Regions from separate parts of the Homo sapiens genome. Here region 2 is linked to region 1. The links are contacts of gene promoters, found by promoter capture Hi-C in human tissues and cell types (Jung and others, 2019). All regions are on one chromosome and are shown on one strand. Each heading gives the region's core, a stretch centred on a gene start or on the middle of the fragment in contact. The rest is flanking DNA. Distances are from core to core; before and after follow the strand shown.

Region 1 (2,938 bases), core at 322-2,821:
CCATTGATGCTCACATGAATACGAAATACAAAATAGCAGCTATGTAGTCTGAATAATATTCTATCTCTTTTGTATTTATATATGATGTCAACATTAATATCATATAATATTGATATATATTTCATATTATATTAAATATTAATATAATATGTTGTATATAAATATATACCTATTACATAATAGATATTCCCATTATGTTATATATCATGTAATATATTATATGTAATATATGTATATAATATACTATATGAAATACATATTATATATTATATGTATTATTATATGTATATATGCTATATATTATGGTGTATATATTATGTATTATGAAATATATATTACGTTATGTAATATAGATTATATATTATATATGAATATCTTATATCCATATATATTCCATACATACATTTTATATGTGTGTGTATATATATATATACGCACCATGGTCCATCCCCTCAATAATATATTTTCCAAAACCTCAAATTTCCTTCTCTCTGTCTTTTATAATACCTGCCCTGGATAATACTAACCATCTGTCTCTCCTGCCTATATAATTCTGCCCCTACTGGTTACATGGGAAGCCTTGGTTTCCTAAAGTGTTGAGATTACAGGTGTGAGCCACTGTACCCAGCCTGATTCTGGAATTTTGTATATGCAGACTCCTCCTGCTAAAATAATATATATTATATATAATATATATTCCATAATATATATAACATACATACATATATTATTTTAGCATATATTATATAATATACGGTAATAATACACATAATACATAATTATAATAAATATGATATAATATATATTCCATTGTATAAAACATATAATATATATAACGGAATATTATTCAACCTTGAAATAGAAGGAGGTCCTGACATTTATCACAAGATGGGTGGACCTGGAGGACATTACGCTAAGTGAAATAAGCCAGACACAAAAAGAAAAATATTGCATGACGTCACTTACATGAGGAACTTTTTTTAATCAAGAGAGACAGCTCAAATACACAGAAATAAAGAATGAGGCAGTTGGGGAAGAAAATGGGAAGATGTGGGTCAAAAAATACAAAATAGCAGATATGCAGGATGAACACCACACAGGTGATGGTGATTTTACGCCCTTCCCAAGGTGTCATTCAGAGGCACGTGGTCTCCATCTGACCCTCACTGGTGATATTGATTTGATCACCTGGTCCAGATGTTGTCCAATTTCTTCGCTGTACAATTTCTATTACTTTTTCTCCATTCCAACATACGAGCAGTTTATAGAGAGGCATTTAAGGCAATTCAAATATTCTGCTCGTCATGCAAATGTCCCCCAGTTGTGTCATGTAGATGACAATTCTTGCCTGATTCAACCTTTACCACTACGATGGCTACAAAATGCTGTGGGTTGTGGTTGAAAATTTGAGTCTTGAGTAGAAATTGGAGAAATATGCTGGACCGTCAGATTCCACCGGGGCACGGCCGCCATGCCAATCCAAACTTCAAAACTACAATTCCCAGCATCCTCTCCGCCCCGCTTCCGTATTAGACGCCGCCAATGAAGTCCCGCGAGAATTGGAAGGCGGCAGTGAAGCGGAAGCCATTACTCTCTGGAGTCGATTGCCCCGAGACACATGGGCCAAGGAGGGGTCAGCGGCGAATTCTTTCGGCCTGTTGGGGACCCCTCGTGTCCCCACGCCAGACTGGACCTCCCGTATGAACTTCTCTTCGCATCGGCGGCGGCTTCCGTCACCTCCGCTCCCCCGATCCTATTCCCAGTCGTGTAAGCCCTGCTTTCCTTAACCCTTCTCCCCCTCAGTTCCAGGGGTCACGGGAGGCCTATCTGGCGGTGAGGACTAAGAGGGTACGAGGGTCGGGGGCTAAAGAGCTAGGCATCCAGACGAGGGGTGCGTTTAGATCTCGCGATCAGCGATATGAAAAGCTGGGGACGCGAAGGATAAAATTGGACCATTGCAGCTAGTGATGAGAGAAGCATTGGTCACCTGATCCTGAAAAGCCCTAAGTCTCTGGTGGGGGCGGAAAAGCCCGGCTGAAGTGAATTCAAGAGTTTGGGGGCAGTTCAGGAGATTGGGGGGCGTCAGGATTTGGACATCGCGAGGAGAAATCACCTTCTTTCTGCGCTGTAGTCAATTTTATCTCGTGAATGTCAGCACATTGGTGTTCTTATTAGCACTTACCTTGAGTACCTTTTATATTTTTAATTTAAGACCTTCTGGTTGCACTTTTTTATTTATTTTAATTTTAGTGGACTCTTGTAAATAGCCTATATGTATATTTACTATTCAGTTCAACATTTTGTTAATTAACTTGAGTTAGTCCAGTTATACTTATCGTGATTATTAATATTTTCCATTGAATTTTACCGTCTTATTTTGTGGTGTGTCCTTTCCTATGCACATATTTTAACACTGGAAAATAGGACATACATGCAAAAAAAGTATGATTACACACACACGCAGACTTACACACACTTAAAAGGACAACAGTAAAGCGAATTTACAAACCAGGCCAAGAAAGAGATTATTAAATCTCAGAAAGCTGTGTGCCTCTTCTAAACTGCATCCTCCTCTCCCACCAATACTGTCTCCGTGGATTTGACTGCGTATACATCTTTTCCAGAAAATATATTTCCTAAATTTTGGTAATTATTTGTGAATGAACTCAGGCGCTTCAGTATTTTTGGAAACAATCTTTTTCTGTATTGATTCAAGCACACCTTTGTAATTTAGAGATTTCTAAATATCTTGTAGATGAAGTACTTACACCTAGCCATTCTTTTTCAGGAATGTCATGGCTTAAATTCTAGTCAGTTCACCAAATTCCACATACTGGACTTTTGTTTTCAAGTTGTGGTGAATCTATATTTGAACTTTGGGAATATTGTCGTTTTTATGCCATTGAGTTGCAGTTAATTGATTTACATCATTTATTTA
Region 2 (2,938 bases), core at 162-2,661, 410 kb after region 1:
GCCAATTGGCCCATGGGTGGCCATGGGCGGGCCTGGAAAAGGCACCAATTACCATTCCAGTTCATGGGACTGGCAGCCCAGCCACCAGCCTTCAGGCCGTCCCTGGCCAGAAGGAGGAACCTTACCAGGGACCTACCCCTTTCCCCCTGGGACTCTCTCATGTCTATCCTGCTGTTCATGGTGACCCGGCTTGGCCTGACTTTGCTCCAAGATAGGAGGGGGCGTGGACAGCAGGGAGAAGCCAGGCAGCTGGGGCAGGCATTAAACATTAGCCAGGCACAGTGGTGCATGTCTATAGTTCTAGCTACTCAGGAGGCTGAGGTAGGAGGACTGCCTGAGCCCAGCAGGCTGAAGCTGCAGTGAGCAGTGATCACACTGAGGTAGGAGGAATAATTTGACTCCAGAGGTGGGGCTCAGACCTGGACAAAATTGAGGACTAGCTAAAACAGGGATGGGGCAGAAGCAGCTTTCCATAAGACACGCCTACCAGTGAGCCATGTCAGTTTAACATTGCCATGGCAACACCCAGGAGTTTCCACCCCTTTCCATGGCAATGACCCGATGACCAAAGTTACCACCATTTTCCTACAAATTTCTGCATAAACTGCCCCTTAATCTACATGTAATTAAAAGTAGGTATAAATATGACCGCAAAACTGCCCTGAGCTGCTACTCTCAGCACACTGCCTATGAGGTTTCCCATAGGAGTAGTCACAAAGCTGTACCACCACCAGAGCTGAAACACTGCTTCTTCGATAAAGCTTCTTTCTTCTACCACCAGCTCACCCTGAATTATTTCCTGGCCAAGGCCAAAAACCCTCATTGGCTAAGTCCCAATTTGAAGCTTGCTTGTCCTACAGCAGCATGACTGCACTCCAGCCTGGGTGATGGAGTGAGAGCCTGGCTCAAAAAATATACTTTATCAAACAGAGGTATATTAGAGGTAAGTTAAGATAGAACAGTTTCTTAATTCTGAAAAAAACAAAACATTTGCGTAAAGAACAATCTTTTGAATAAAAGTCATAAAAACAGGCCAGGCGTGGTGGCTCATGCCTGTAATCCCAGCACTTTGGGAGGCTGAAGCAGGTAGATCAACTGAGGTCAGGAGTTCGAGACCAGCCTGACCAACATGATTAAATCCCATCTCTACAAAAAATACAAAAATTAGCTGGGCATGGTGGTGGGTGCCTGTAATCCCAGCTACTCAGGAGGCTGAGGTAGGAGAATTGCTTGAACCTGGGAGGTGGAGGTTGCTGTGAGCTGAGATCATGACATTGCACTCCAGCCTCAGCAACAGCGCATGACTCCGTCTCAAAAAAATAAAAAAGAAGCCCAGGCGTGGTGGCTCATACCTGTAATCTCAGCACTTTGGGAGGCTGAGGCAGGAGGATCAACTGAGGTCGGGAGTTCGAGACCAAACTGGCCAACATGGTGAAACCCCACCTCTACTAATAATACAAAAATTAGCCAGGCATCTTAGCGCACACCTGTAATCCCAGCTACTCGGGAGGCTGAGGCAGGAGAATCACTTGAACTCAGGAAGTAGAAGTTGCAATGAGCCAAGATTATGCCATTGCACTCCAGCCTGGGAGACAGAGCGAGTCTCTGTCTCAAAAAAAATAAATAAAATAAAATAAAAAGAATTTGCATTTGGGGAAGTTTGTCAAAGATGTTAGAAGGCTCAAAACATTTGATTGAAACAGGATAACAGCTCACTTGTTAGTAATCCATGTAAATACAGTGATAATCAAAAGTCATTAGTAGGAGTAAATAGAGTTACTAGGAAAAAATGAATCCTTTTAAAGCCCAGAGTTTTTTGTTGATTCTTTTTATTTATTTCAGGGGTAGATGGGGGACAGCGTCTCACTCAGTGGCCCAGGCTGGAGTGCAGCAGCACAAAAGTTCACTGCAGCATTGATCTCCCAGGCCTAAGTGATCTTCCCACCTCAGCCTCCCCAGTAGTTGAGACTACAGGCACACGTTACCACACCCAGCTAATTTTTGTATGTGTGTCTTTTTTTTTTTTTTTTTTTTTAAGAGATGGGCTTTCATCATGTTGCCCAGGCTGGTATCGAACTCCTGAACTCAAGTGATCCTCCCACCTCAGCCTCTCAAAGTGCTGGGATTCAGGCATGAAACACCATGCCCAACCAACCAGGTTTTTTTTTTTAAGTGATAAAAAACTTAATAAAGGCAATACAGGAAATTATCTCGATAATTTCTTGTAAAACCTTTCTTAGACCAGCTACCAAAAAGGTAAAGAAAAACCTTCTACAGTGTGATTATTTCTCCTTATGCAAAGTGCATTTAGATAACCTGGAAGTTGGCCAGGCATGGTGGCTCACACCTGTAATCCCAGCACTTGGGAAGCCGAGGCGGGTGGATCACTTGGGTCAGGAGTTCGAGACCAGCCTGGCCAACATGGTGAAACTCTTTCTCTACTAAAAAACACAAAAATTAGCCAGGGGTGGTGGCACACACCTGTAGACCCAGCTACCAAGGAGGCTGAGGCAGAGAATCACTTGAACCCAGGAGACAGAGGTTGCAGAGAGCTGAGATTGCGCCACTGAACTCCAGCCTGGGTGACAGAGCAAGAATCCATCTCAAAAAATAAAATAAAAATAAAAATAACCTGGAAGTTGAACGTGATGAAAAGTGTGCTTGGATTTAGTTAGGAATATGTCCAAGGCTATGAGTGTAAAAATTTAGGTACATCAAGAAAAGCCGAGAGTACAGAATCAAGTTATACAGAGCAAATACATTGCTTTTCTAGGCCTTCATGATAAATATTTCAGTGTCAGGCCATAATAGCCGATTTAGAACCAAAGAAAAAACTTACAGGAGCAGACAAAAAAGTTGGAGACAGTCATCATCCCAGACCTTCTCAATGTGAAAAAAAGAAGGCAATGATGTATGACCTGCAAATGACATACACTGA

Evidence for each region. The method cuts DNA at HindIII sites, captures the fragments that hold promoters and counts their contacts. A contact is called where the count stands out against the background at its distance.
Region 2: a contact is called between a fragment that was not itself captured here and the fragment with the promoter of ZNF317 in region 1, in 1 of the 25 tissues and cell types used here (spleen).

Annotation. Positions count from the first base shown.
Region 1 is chr19:9,138,826-9,141,763 of GRCh38, forward strand. It overlaps ZNF317 (zinc finger protein 317), which reads left to right and starts at 1,572. Exons shown (of 7, transcript NM_020933.5): 1 at 1,572-1,767. RefSeq lists enhancers at 1,235-1,334, 1,385-1,594. The HindIII fragment of the contact is 13,678 bases long and covers 1-2,938 here.
Region 2 is chr19:9,552,593-9,555,530 of GRCh38, forward strand. No RefSeq gene overlaps it. Among named protein-coding and RNA genes, the nearest start is that of ZNF426-DT, 15 kb to the left of the region's middle. The HindIII fragment of the contact is 5,877 bases long and covers 1-2,938 here.